Regions from separate parts of the Homo sapiens genome. Here regions 1, 3 and 4 are each linked to region 2. Evidence: promoter capture Hi-C in human tissues and cell types (Jung and others, 2019). All regions are on one chromosome and are shown on one strand. Each heading gives the region's core, a stretch centred on a gene start or on the middle of the fragment in contact. The rest is flanking DNA. Distances are from core to core; before and after follow the strand shown.

Region 1 (3,402 bases), core at 701-3,200, 170 kb after region 2:
ACAGGGAGATGTGATAAGGAACCATGGGGAGAGGAAAGGTCTGCTTTAGAGAGATGGAAACAGCACAGCTGTGGAGTCACACAATCTGGGGCCCATTCCTGGCTCTGCTACCCACTAGCTGGGTGATGCTGTGTGATGCTGAGCAAATTACTTAACCTCTCTGAGCCTCAGCCTCTTCATTTATAAAATAAGAACAATGATGCCTTCTCCCAGGGCTGCTAATGAGGGGCTAATGCAATATATGTAAAACACCTGACCAAATAGTATGTGCTGTCTCCATAAATGACAGCTCCCAAGATGATGAAATAGGAGCAAGAGATAGAGAAAGGGGACCACCTGCTATGCACCCGTACACATGCAACCCAGGGGTGGAAATGCTCAAAGCAGACATTAAACGGGTAGGGATGTTTCATGAACATGTTCAAAATTCATGCTGAGGGCTGTGCAGGGCTTCAGAGGGGATGGAAAGTGGGAAGGGCTGGAGCCCTTCCCCGAGCATCCCCCTTCTCATGGTACTAGTGCACTTGGCTGTGTGGCTTTCAGCAAGTTACTTAAGCCTTAGTTTTCTCATTTGCAAAATGGGGTTGTTGTGAGGAATAAATAAAGAAACTCATGTAAAGTGTTTAAAACAGTGCCTGGTACGCAGTATGCAATCTAAAAATGTCAGCCAGCATTATTATTCTATAAATGATCCTGCACTCCTCTCAAGAATTCACATCCCCTGCAGCCTGCAAGCCGTTTGCATGAAAGGACCCTGCCTTCTCTGTCACAGATGATGAGGGTTGGTACCTTCCTGGGGTCCACTGTATATTTCCAAGCTCCTTGCCTCAGTTCTGCGAAGCAGAAAGGGAAAGTCATATTTAGCTCCATTGGCAGAGAAGGAGACCAATGCCTGGAAGAGGAACCGTCTTGTCCAAGTCACTCACTGAGACAGCAGCACAGCCGAGACTCAAACCCAGGCCTTCCACCTGCTAACTTGGGACTCTGTTCATTGTCCCCAGGAATTTCAGAGGCATGGCTGGATTTGATCATCTTTGCTTGACACCATATTAGTGGATAGAAAACTGAACAGCATTTCAGAACCAAGTGTGCTTCCTTGCCTCTGGTCTATGACACTTTCCTATTTTACTCTCCTGATTTCTATCAACAAAACCCCATGGAAAAGGAAAACAGCCTCTGCCAACCTGTGTGCCACAGAGTGTTCACTGATAGTCCATCACAGACGATTTTCACTGTCAATTAAGGATGCTGCATGTTCTTTCTCTCGCCCTCTCTGAGAAAGACTTAGCACACAAAGTATATTATTGAAGGCTCTGAAAAGTCCTGCAGTAAACACATCTGTGTAACTTGGTTTAACTCAGTGCTTTCTAAACGTATTGGCCATAAACCCCCTTCTTCGCAGAGCACAACATCCTGAGAGACAGCAATGTTCTGTAAAATTAGTGGAGAAAAGCTTAATACAAAACTGACAGCTGAGGGGTTAACATGCCCCTCCCCAGTCCCTTAGTTAAGAACAGCCAAGTGGCCTGAGACATGTCACCCTTGGGGCAGCATCCTAATGAGCACAGCCGAGGCAGAATGCTGCTGGCCTATCAGCTTACTCTTTTCCTCCCCAAAAATTATACACCCAAAATGTATAGTTATGGGTAGGGGCTTCCAGCACCCAGTAGGCCCAGTGAGGAAGCCACAAACTCTCAGGGAGTCAGACTAAGACAAACTCCAACCTGCCAACTAAGGGTCCAAAGAGAATTCTCACTGTAATGGGGGAATTTCATCAAAGACCCCCATCCCCCATAAGAGAATCCATGCCCAGCTGCTATAGCCACAGGTAGGGGTGCTATAAAATGCATGTGGATACAACACTAGGGTGAGGGCCAAACAAGACAGACAGCAAGACAAATGGAAAACCTTGATTAAAAGCACCTTCAGGCCTATAATCCCAGCACTTTGGGAGGCCAACGTAGGAGGATCACTTGAGCTCAGGAGTTCGAGACCAGCCTGGGCAACATGGTGAAACCCCATCTCTACCAAAAATATAAAAACTTAGCCAGCATGGTGGTGCACACCTGTGTTCCCAGTTACTCGGGAGGCTGAGGTGGGAGAATGGCTTGAGCTCAGGAGGTGGAGACTGCAGTGAGCTGAGATCATATCACTGCACTCCAACCTGGGTGACAGAGTGAGACTCCATCTAAAAAAAAGAAAAAAAAAAAGTTCCTTCAGGCCGGGCACAGTGCCTCATGCTTGTAATCCCAACATTTTGGGAAGCTGAGGCAGGAGAATTGCCTGAGGCTAGGGGTTCAAGACCAGCCTGGGCATCATAGCAAGACCCCATCTCTAAAAAAAAAAAATTTTAATGAGCTGGGCATGGTGCCACATGCCTGTAATCCTAGCTAAGAGGGAGGATTGCTTGAGCTCAGGAGATCGAGGCTGCAGTGAGCCATGATTGCACACTGCACTCCAGCCTGGGCGACAGAGCAAGACCCCTATCAAAAAAACAAAAGCTCAGCCAATAATCAATGAAGAGGACTGTTGCCCTCTTCCTGCTTCTGGCTCCTTCAGGGAAAGAGTCTGCAGGCTGGGAAATGACCAAAGAACAGGGTGAGGAAGGGGCAAGGAGACAAAAGGAGAAGGAGTGGCTGCAAAATTCCCCGCCCAGAGTTGGTTCTATCTGCCCACAGATGACAGAGCAGGTGCCACCACCCCAGCCACCTCCCAGAAGCATCACTGAGTGTTCTGGATGGAGTGGTACAGAATTGGGATCTGTGTTCTGGTCCTGGCTTCCATCAGACAGTCATTCAACAAGCCCTTATCAGTATGAGGTGCTAAGCTTGGTTCTGAGGTAACAGAGAGCTGTGGCACTCAGGCTCTGCACTAGGGAAGCAGTAGCTAGAAAAGCTGAATAAGAACGATGCTTATAAAGGCCCACTGAGAGGCAGAGAGGGAGCAGGGAGGGATTGCTGTGAACTAGAGACTAGTGCTGTCTCAGGTCTCCCCCCACCCCCCATCCCCATAATATAACATTAACTGCAATAGCTACCCTTTATTGACATTTACTCTGCCAGCAATATATTCAGTGCTTTATATCTTTTATCATATTTATTGCTCCTAACAAGCCTACTATGGTTCGGACTTTTCAGATGAGGAAGCTGAGGTTCAGCGAGGTTATATAAGTTACCCAAGGACACCCCATTGGTCTGGAGTCTGTCTGACTCTCCGTCTTTCATGCTAACCGCCATGCATTTCCACTTCGCAAGTGCCTAGCCCAGTGCAGGGCTCACAGCTCAGCACGGAGCCTCCACATTCCTGGTGGGACCGATGCTGTGCAGCATCCTCAGAAACCGTCCCTCCCTCGCCGTGACACCTCTCGCCCTCCCAGATCCTGGTATGCAAGTGTTTATTGAT
Region 2 (3,334 bases), core at 131-2,630:
TGTAAAAAAAAAAAAAATGCAGATTCTGGCCGGCTGTGGTGGCTCATGCCTGTAATCCCAGCACTTTGGGAGGCTAAGGCGGGCGGGCAGATCACTTGAGGTCAAGAGTTCAAGACCAGCCTGGCCAACACGGTGAAACCCCGTCTCTACAAAAATACAAAAATTAGCCAGGCATGGTGGCACGTGCCTGTAATCCCAGCTACTCGGGAGGCTGAGGCACGAGAATCGCTTGAACCCAGAAGGCAGAGTTTACAGTGAGCCGAGATCACGCCACTGCACTTCAGCCTGGACAACAGAGCGAGACTCTGTCTTAAAAAAAAAAAAGCAGATTCCTTGTTAAGAATGCACATCAAAGTCCTACTGAATTACTCGGGGTGTGGGAAGAGTTCAACTCTCCATTTTTAACAAGCCCTGTGACTCTATGCATGCTAAAGTTTGAGAATCACTGAACTCACTAGTAAGCCTGAAGAAGACTATGACCCTGTACCTCTCCTGCAACCTCCGGGAGGATGCCCTAAGGGAAGGAAAACAGGGGAAGCAAGATGAATTTCCAGGAAGACCACCTGTGCTTGATTCCCAGGCTCCACCACTTCCACCATCTCAGCCTGGGTTCCACCTGGAACCTCAATTTCCTCATCTGTACAAACCTCACAGGCTTGCAGTGAGGATTAACAATGCAATGAAAGTAGCACATAGCGGTTGCTCAGTATGTATGTTTTCTTTCCCTTCTATATGCAGCAAATTATTTTTAAGCCATTCAGTGACATCACCAATTCCAGAATTCTCTTTACATATTCCCAAAGTAATTTTGAAGGTACAAGCTTCCATACTCCGGAGGAAAAATTTCCCCTTTTAGAGGATATTTAAACCATTAATAATATACACCAGAATGGGCTCCCTCATCTTTGAGTCCTAGCCCTTTGGGAGTTCTCCTTAGATTCTACAGGTCCCTATTTCTCTGGGGTCTCCCTCACCTCTGTACCCATCCCTTTTGTTCTGTGTCCCCCGCTTTGAGTTCCCTCACTTCTATGCCAGGCCGTCTTTGGGGCTCCCCTTCACTTCCATGTCTCTTCCTCTCTGGAGATGCCCTCTCCAGAGAGTCTGGTTCGCCCATCCGGCACCTCCTCGGGCTCCCTGTCCTCCGGGAACCCCGTGGGCCTTCTCACCCCTCCCGTCCCTCTCCCCAAACCGCGTCGCCCTCTCATCCTACGCTTGGCTCCTCCTCCTATCTATAGCCCAGCCTATCCCTTATCCCGCGGCCAGGAGAAGGCAACTAACGAGGTGGCCCAACCCCCACTTTTCCCCTCACCTCTAGAGCGACGCCCAGATTCTCCCGCTTCTTTTTAGTCATGTTACTTGCCGGGATCCCCCAGTCATCACTGGACGCGCCCACCAAGTCGCTATGTGCGCATGCTCAAGTCTTCGTGCTTCTCCCTCATTGGCCACCGAGTCAGCGGGAGGTGGGGCTGCTGCCGTCGCCATCTTGTTGAGGGGCGCGGCCGGCTTGGTGCGGACATGTTTATGAGGGGCAACCTCTAGCTTGAGACCTCAGCCTAGATGGGTGGAGGGTGGAAAAGTCGGTACAGGGAGGCAGAATGTACAGCCCGGGAGTAGACCTGCCCCTTTCTTCCCCAGTTTTAAGCCGCTTTGCATCACTGAGAGCCTTTTTTAACCCCATGTTCTCTTTCAGTGTGTTTTGTGTTTCAGCAACAACCCCGTCCCTGTTTAGGCCACGCCCCCCATTCAAAGTCTGTCCATCCTTCAAGGCCGGTGCTGGAGCCTTGAGCTTCTCGGCCAATGGAATCTGATAATGGCCCTCTATTGTTATTTCTCCTTTGTGTCTTGACTTCTTTTTTTTTTTTTTTTTGGTTTGTTTTATTGTAAGAACAACCTACAAACATCACAGAAAACATATAACTGAGAAGCAGCATCCTTTATTCTACCAACTTTATCAGTTCCTCTTTGCTTCTGTTTATTCCTCCCAGGCTTGGCCTCACACACAGTATTTTACATTGTTGTAATCGTACTATACTGTACACCATAGACCCACGGCCTTTGAAATGTTTTGACTGTGACCCTACGATAAAAAAATGTATTTTATACCATGGCCCAGTTACCCATGAAACCAAAACCAAAGTTTCACAGTAAGTACCTTTACCTCCTGTAATGCACTCTGTTATTTTGTATTCTTGCCTATTTAATTAAAAAAAAACAAAGTCGGGCACGGTGGCTCAGGCCTGTAATCCTGTGTCTGGAGTTGGTTCCTTCAGGTGGGTTCTTGGTCTCACTGACTTCACGGTGAGTGTTACAGCTCTTAAAGGTAGCACGGACCCAGAGAGTGAGCAGCAGCAGGATTTATTGTGAAGAGCAAAAGAACAAAGCTCCCACATCATGGAAGGGGACCTGAGTGGGTTGCCACTGTTGACTGGGGGATGGCCAGCTTTTATTCCCTTATTTGTCCCCTGTTACAGAGCACTGACTGGTCCATTTTACAGAGTGCTGATTGGTGCATTTACAGTCCTTTAGCTAGACACAGAGTGCTGATTGGTGCATTTTTACAGAGTGCAGATTGGTGCATTTACAATCCTTTAGCTAGACACAGAGCGCTGATTGGTGCGTTTTTACAGAGCACTGACTGGTGCATTTACAATCCCTAGGTAGACACAGAGTGCTTATTGGTGCATTATAATCCTTTAGCTAGACACAGAGCGCTGATTGGTGGGTTTTTACAGAGTGCTGATTGGCGCATTTACAATCCTTTAGCTAGACACAGAACGCTGATTGGTGCGTTTACAATTGTCTAGCTAGACAGAAAAGTTCTCCAAGTCCCCACTCAACCCAGGAAGTCCAGCTGGCTTTACCTCTCAATCCCAGCACTTTGGGAGGCTGGGCAGATCACGAGGTCAGTAATTTGAGACCAGCCTGGCCAACGTGGTGAAAGCCCGTCTCTACTAAAAATACAAAAATTAGCTGGGCGTGGTGGTGGGCGCCTGTAAACCCAACTACTCGGGAGGCTGAAGCAGGAGAAACACTTGAAACTGGAAGGCGGAGGTTGCAGTGAGCCGAGATCGTGCCACTGCACTCCAGCATGGGTGAAAGAGCGAAACTCCATCTCAAAAAAATAAACAAAAACAAGTTGGTGGCAGGACACCTCTTAGGTTTATTTCATGACCCCTTAATGGAGGTTGAACTGCAATTTGAAAAACACTGCCAAGTATGTTTTTCTGTGTCTTTGAAATTATCACTTGCGGTGGCCTCATGTGCCACCAAGGGAGTCTCTCGCATTCTTGCATTGGACATCATTTTATTGACAGTAACTCCAAATATTGCGAAA
Region 3 (3,236 bases), core at 113-2,612, 170 kb before region 2:
GTGAGCCAAGATCATGCCACTGCACTCCAGCCTGGGTGACGGAGCGAGACTACGTCTCAAAAAAAAACAGAAAAAGAAATCTTACCACACAGAGGTGAATATCACAAATTTTAAAAAAATTGATTAGTATGCATTTTATTTTATGTATTAATATTTAAAACCATTATTCTGAGGAGATTGATGGGGTTCACCAGACAGCCCAAGAGTCTAAGGTACAGAAAAGACTGAGACCATTATAAAGAGAGCCTGCCTAACTTAGGATACAAGTGGTCTACCTGAGGAGAATGTTAGCAAAAAGAGGCAACACCTTTTCCAGTTGTTGTGGGATAGGGACATGGTGCGGGAAGGAGGTAGGAAGCAGCAGAGATGGGTAAAAGGGGCCAGAGGCCAGGGAGTACATGGTGGCATGGGGGTGGGGGCATGTAGTATGGTCCAAGGTCAACATTTTAAAAAATAAGTTGAGATAGGGCCGGGCGCGGTGGCTCGCGCCTGTAATCCCAGCACTTTGGGAGGCCGAGGCGGGCGGATCACGAGGTCAGGAGATCGAGACCATCCTGGCTAACACGGTGAAACCCCGTCTCTACTAAAAATGCAAAAAATTAGCCGGGCGTGGTGGTGGGCGCCTGTAGTCCCAGCTGCTCGGGAGGCTGAGGCAGGAGAATGGCGTGAACCCGGGAGGCGGAGCTTGCAGTGAGCCGAGATCGTGCCACTGCACTCCAGCCTGGGCGACAGAGCCAGACTCCGACTCAAAAAAAAAAAAAAAAAAAAAAAAAAAAATAAGTTGAGATAGAAATGATGGTTCTCTTTCAAACAAAACAAACAAAAAAAGCTTTGAGGCAGACAGGACTGAGGCCAGAATAGAACCAAGAGGGAATTACTCCTGTGAGAGGGGAATATTCCAAAGATGTTCCGATCAGCTAAAGGCAGAGTTTTTAAAAGCAGAGCATCTGCTGGCTTGAGTGAATATCAATAACTGGTTGAATAACTGGTCTGGTTGAGTGAATTTCCGTAATCATGTGACTGGAGGGGTTTGCCTGGAGGGTTGGAGAGAGCAGATGCCAGCAACCATGGAGGGGAGAGTGGGGACCTTGGGATGTGCACTCCTCCGGGGGTTCACCACCATCATGACGGCTTTGAGTTCTGTTCTTGGGCTTGGGGATCAAAGGGAAGACTTTGCATTAGCAAAGTTTGTTTTTTTTTTAAATGAGAATATTTAGTGCTGGTAGAGATCTAGGGAAATGGGCATTTTTCTGGAATATATTTTCTGGTTGAATGTTAAAGACCTTTAAAATGTTTGTGGTGGGCCAGGCGCGGTAGCTCATGCCTGTAATCCCAGCACTTTGGGAGGCTGAGGCGGGCGGATCACCTGAGGTCAGGAGTTCGAGACCAGCCTGGCCAACATGGTGAAACCCCATCTCTACTAAAAATACAAAAATTAGCCAAGTGTGATGGCTAATCCCAGCTACTCGGGAGGCTGAGGCAGGAGAATCGCTTGAACCTGGGAGGCGGAGGTTGCGGTGAACTGAGATTGTGCCACTGCGTTCCAGCCTGGGCAATAGAGCAAGACTCTGTCTCTAAATAAATAAATAGATAGATAGATAAAAATAAAATGTTTATGCCCTTTGAAATAGTAATTTCATTTCTAGGAATTTGGCTTAGGGAAATAATCCAAGATAAGGCTTTGTGCATAAAGATGTTCATTATAATTTTTTATAGTGAAAAACCAGAAATAATTAAATGCTCAAAACAGGAGGATGTAAATTCTGGTACATCTTACATCATGGAAAATTCTTTGGATATTGAAAATATCTACAAGGAATTTTTAATATTAGAGGAAATGCTTACGGTAAATGTTGCATAGATTCAAAATTATGTAGAGAAAATATTTCAAGTATGTAAAATATGTAGGAAAAGGACTGGAAGGAAATATGCCAAAATGTTTTAAAATGGCTTCCTCTTGATCGTGAAGTTATGGGTAATTTATTTTCTGTTTTTTTTTTACTTTTTAGTAAACAAAATTTCCACAGAGTAGCTTCACCCAGGCTGGAGTGTAATGGCGTGATCTCGGCTCACTGCAACCTCCGCCTCCCAGATTGAAGCAGTTCTCCTGCCTCAGCCTCCCAAGTAGCTGGGACTACAGGCGGCCACCACAATGCCTGGCTAATTTTTGTATTTTTAGTAGAGACGGGGTTTCACCATGTTGGCCAGGCTGGTCTCAAACTCCTTACCTCAAGTGATTGGCCCACTTCGGCCTCCCAAAGTGCTGGGATTACAGGCATGAGCCACTGCGCCCAGCCCAGAGTAGTTATTACTAAAAAAAAAAGTTATTTCATAACACAATAATACACAAATATTTTATAAGATACATAAATATAATGAGAGAAAAGTGAAAGGCTTCCCTCCCAAAGGGTAACCACTGTGAACAGTTTCCCACTTCTCTAAAATGTTTATGTGTACATGTACATATACAAATATATTGTTGTGTTTTTTCTTTTACCTAAGTGGGATCATACTGTAAATATTGTTCTGCAACTGCCTTTTTTATCCTTTCCAAAATGTCTTCTTTATCTTCATATACTGATACATGTAGACCGGCTTCGCTTGTTTCAAGTGCTGCCTTGCATCTCATGATGCAGATAATCCATGGTTTATCTCACCATTCCCATATTGCCAGACGCTTTTCTAGTATCCTTTCTCCACTATTTGAAGCAATGATGCAGTGAATACCTTTGTACACACAGTAGTGTGACTATTTCCCTAGGATAGAGAGTTAGAAGCAGAGTTGCTGGATGAAAGACCATGTGCATTTCTTATTTTGATAGATATGGTATGTATTTGTTAAGATGATATAAACTTGTCTACTGTAACCAAGACCTCAAAATAACAGTGGCTTAAAACAAGAGAGTTGTTTATTTCCCTTCAACTAACAGTCTAAGTGTAAGCAGTCCAGGGCTAACATTATGGTTTTGGAGTGTTAGGGACTCTGATTTGTCTTATTACTCTGCCATCTTCAACACATGCTTTAACTTTATGGTCTAAGATGATCACTTCTACTCCTCCATTCATATCCATTTTCTAAGAGGGAGAGAAGTTTAGAGCAAAACCTAGAAGTTACACCTATCATTTTTGTTCACATCCAGAATTGGCCAGAACCTAATCGTATTGGCCACACATAGCAGTGATGTGCATTGGGCAGTTTTGTGCCCAGCTACACTTCTAGTACTAAAGGAAGAAAT
Region 4 (2,979 bases), core at 350-2,849, 130 kb after region 2:
CCCTTCCCACTCTGACTGCAGCAACCACTGACCCTGGGCATCTCAATTAGCCACTTGCTTCATAATTCATCATATGGTCAAGGCTGCCGCAGGCTTACATGTGTGGGCATGTACATACACTCACATGTGTGCAAGCATACATGCACACTTGTGCACACACAGTCGCACACACTGCATGGGCATCAGATATAACACTAAATGTTAGTGTTTGTTGCTGGAGGTCGTGTTCTTCTCTTTGGAATTTCTGTTATTGAAAGCTTGGCTCGACATCCCCTCTGCCTTGCCCCTGGTAAACTCAACCCAATTCTTCCCCCTCGCCTCCCCCACTGCATGAGCATTTTTATTTGAATAAATCAGCAGGAAAAGATTTCAAGTTCAAAGCCCTTTCCCAGACTCTGTGATGTACAGTTATAAAAATAATGCTAAGAACAGAAAGTGACCTTTATTTCTAATCTATAGTCCTTGATGACTTCTGGCTTTTATTTTCTCGAGAAAATAGATTTTTTCCCCTGGTTATTAAAAAAATTATATGTTCATGAAAAAATATTCAGACAATACAGAAAGCCTAAAGATGTGAGTCAGAAGCATCTGAAATTTCACTGCTGAGATAACTACTATTCACATTCCAGTGAATAGTCTTTCGGACAAAAAAAAAATGCATATGCTCATATATACACAGATGTTATTACATAAAAAAGATAGTAACAGGCATGCGCTTTCTAATCTGCCATTCTCTCTCGACAATATATTATGGACATCTTTAAATGGCAGCACAGACTCCCACTGTGTGGACGTTCGGCACTCTCAGCCTCTCTGACTCATGTTTTACTCTATTTCTCACCGCCTCTCAGATGAGAGTGAACTGGCGGGTGGTTCTGGGGGAACGGCACGGGGGGTGACAGAGAGGGACTCTGCTTATGGAGGGTGGCGTATATAGATGGAATGAGGACTCACAGGGTGCTGAGTCTACTCTGCTGAACTGTGGCTGGCCCCAGGGGACCTGAGAAAAATGGGCAATTCAAAACATCTTTAGAGAAGGCCAAACAGCTAACAAGACAGGGCGATGGATGTGGTGGTGGGATTTGCATTCGGGGGCCCTGCCAAGTGGACCTCAGAACAGGAAACACGCTGGGCACGCACGGCCAGGAAAGATGAATTTGGGAGCGGGGGTTCAAGAAGCAGTATGGAAGGATGCCTCCACCCAGGTTTGGGGTGACTTCAAGGAGGAGAGTTTCGACTTTTTTCTTGTGTTTATTTATACCCAACCCTTTTCTGAAAAGGTGTTACAGTAGCTTTCAATAAAGGACATGCAAAAAGCTAGAAATAGAAAAGCAGGAACAGGGACGGTCTCCATCTGAAGCAGAGGACTGGAGCCCGAGCCTCACAGGGAAAGGCCTTGCTTCTCCCAGCCCCTGGGGAAGAGCTGGTGGGAAAAGCAGAGTGATCTCCAAGGAGAGGAAGAAGAGGAGGGACTCTGGCTGATGTGAACGCACATCGCACCAGAAGTCAAAAACCTAGATCTCCCTCTGGGTTCTTCCTCTCCTGAATTTTCTGAGCTAGGGTAACCACATCACCTTTCTGAGCCTCACTTTGCTCATCTGTGATATGAAAATAAAAATATTAGAGTCCTGGCTGGGTGCGGTGGCCCACGCCTGTAATTGCAACACTTTGGGAGGCTGAGGCGGGTGGATCACTTGAGGCCAGGAGTTTGAGACCAGCCTGGCCAACATGGTGAAGACCCACCTCTACTAAAAATACAGAAATTAGCTGGGTATGGTGGCACATGACTATAATCCCAGCTACTTGGGAGGCTGAGGCATGAGAATCACTTGAACCTGGGAGGTGGGGGTTTCAGTGAGCCAAGATTGTGTCATTGCAATCCAGCCTGGGTGACAGAGTGAGACCTTGTCTTAAAAAATAAATAAAAATAAGCTAAGTAAATTGGCTATGTTCTTTAACAATATATATGTCAAAGTCCTGATAACAGAGGACTCGGTTGCTGTAAGTTACCTGACCTACCTGTACAGTTTGCAATGGGACCTGCCCTTGGACAGGGCCACTTGGAGGACTTTCATGGTACATACACTGCATTACTGTGCCCCTGGGAATGAATGGTCACTAGAGGAGGGGAGAAAGAGGGAAGATGCAAGGAGGTGTGTTTTCGGTGCCTGCCAGCCTCCTGCCCCTCCTAAGTGGGTCCACCCACAAACTGCCTAGAAATGGCAGCCCCCAGGTAGCCTTGTTTCATGTCCATGACCCCTTCCTCCAGCCCAGCTGGTTGGATCAGGGTGGCATCTGACTCAAGGGCAGCCAACCCACAGGTTGCCCAATGATGTATGTGTGGCTAGACCTGAAATGGGGGCCTGTCCAATCAGCCCATTATCCTGAGCGGCTGAGTCAGTGAATGCTGGCAGCTGCTACCGGAAGGCCATGAAGGAGAGTTGAGCTGGAGAGGTCATGATGCCTGGAAAGCTGAAGTTATGAGGAAGCAGACACCATGACTCAGGAGAGGAACTGCATGGACAAAAAGCAGCAGATGCTGGGGAGTGACTGAGTCATGCCAGGGTGGTCATCTATTGCTGTTGTCAAAAACTACTCCCAACCGCAGGGGCTTAAAACAACTATTTTATTATATCCCATGACGATGGGTCAGGAATTTGGACAGAGCTTGGCCGAGCAATTCAGGTGGCAGTTAGGCTGGTCTGGAAGGTCTGAGGCAGCTGCACTCCCATATCTTCTGGTGCTTTGGTGGAGATGGCTGGAAGGCTGGACTCAGCTGGGATGGTCAGCCAGAGCCCCTCCAGCATGACGGTCTCAGAGCAACTCAGAGGACATCCTAGGTGGCAGTTCAGGGCTTCCAGAGAGAACGTTCCAAGAGGCCTGAGCTGAAGCTCCAAGGCATCTTCAACTCAGCATGTCACATTCTATTGCACAAACAAGGCACTAAGAGCAACCCAGATTCAAGAGGAAGGGAATTAG

Evidence for each region. Contacts are between HindIII fragments. The study calls those that stand out against the background at their distance.
Region 1: a contact is called between a fragment that was not itself captured here and the fragment with the promoter of CCDC167 in region 2, in 6 of the 25 tissues and cell types used here (IMR-90 fibroblasts, dorsolateral prefrontal cortex, hippocampus and 3 more).
Region 3: a fragment that was not itself captured here is called in contact with the fragment with the promoter of CCDC167 in region 2 in 2 of the 25 tissues and cell types used here (IMR-90 fibroblasts and hippocampus).
Region 4: a fragment that was not itself captured here is called in contact with the fragment with the promoter of CCDC167 in region 2 in 1 of the 25 tissues and cell types used here (liver).

What each region holds. Positions count from the first base shown.
Region 1 is chr6:37,669,950-37,673,351 of GRCh38, forward strand. All of the region lies in intron 1 of MDGA1 (MAM domain containing glycosylphosphatidylinositol anchor 1), which reads right to left. Among named protein-coding and RNA genes, the nearest start is that of MDGA1, 26 kb to the right of the region's middle. The HindIII fragment of the contact is 4,624 bases long and covers 1-3,402 here.
Region 2 is chr6:37,498,513-37,501,846 of GRCh38, forward strand. It overlaps CCDC167 (coiled-coil domain containing 167), which reads right to left and starts at 1,381. Exons shown (of 4, transcript NM_138493.3): 1 at 1,310-1,381. The coding sequence starts at 1,351. RefSeq lists an enhancer at 1,374-1,573. The HindIII fragment of the contact is 4,936 bases long and covers 1-3,334 here.
Region 3 is chr6:37,326,730-37,329,965 of GRCh38, forward strand. The region is part of intron 12 of TBC1D22B (TBC1 domain family member 22B); the gene reads left to right. Among named protein-coding and RNA genes, the nearest start is that of RNF8, 26 kb to the right of the region's middle. The HindIII fragment of the contact is 6,836 bases long and covers 1-3,236 here.
Region 4 is chr6:37,628,067-37,631,045 of GRCh38, forward strand. MDGA1 (MAM domain containing glycosylphosphatidylinositol anchor 1) reads right to left here. Exons shown (of 17, transcript NM_153487.4): 17 at 2,613-2,979. Among named protein-coding and RNA genes, the nearest start is that of MDGA1, 68 kb to the right of the region's middle. The HindIII fragment of the contact is 8,275 bases long and covers 1-2,979 here.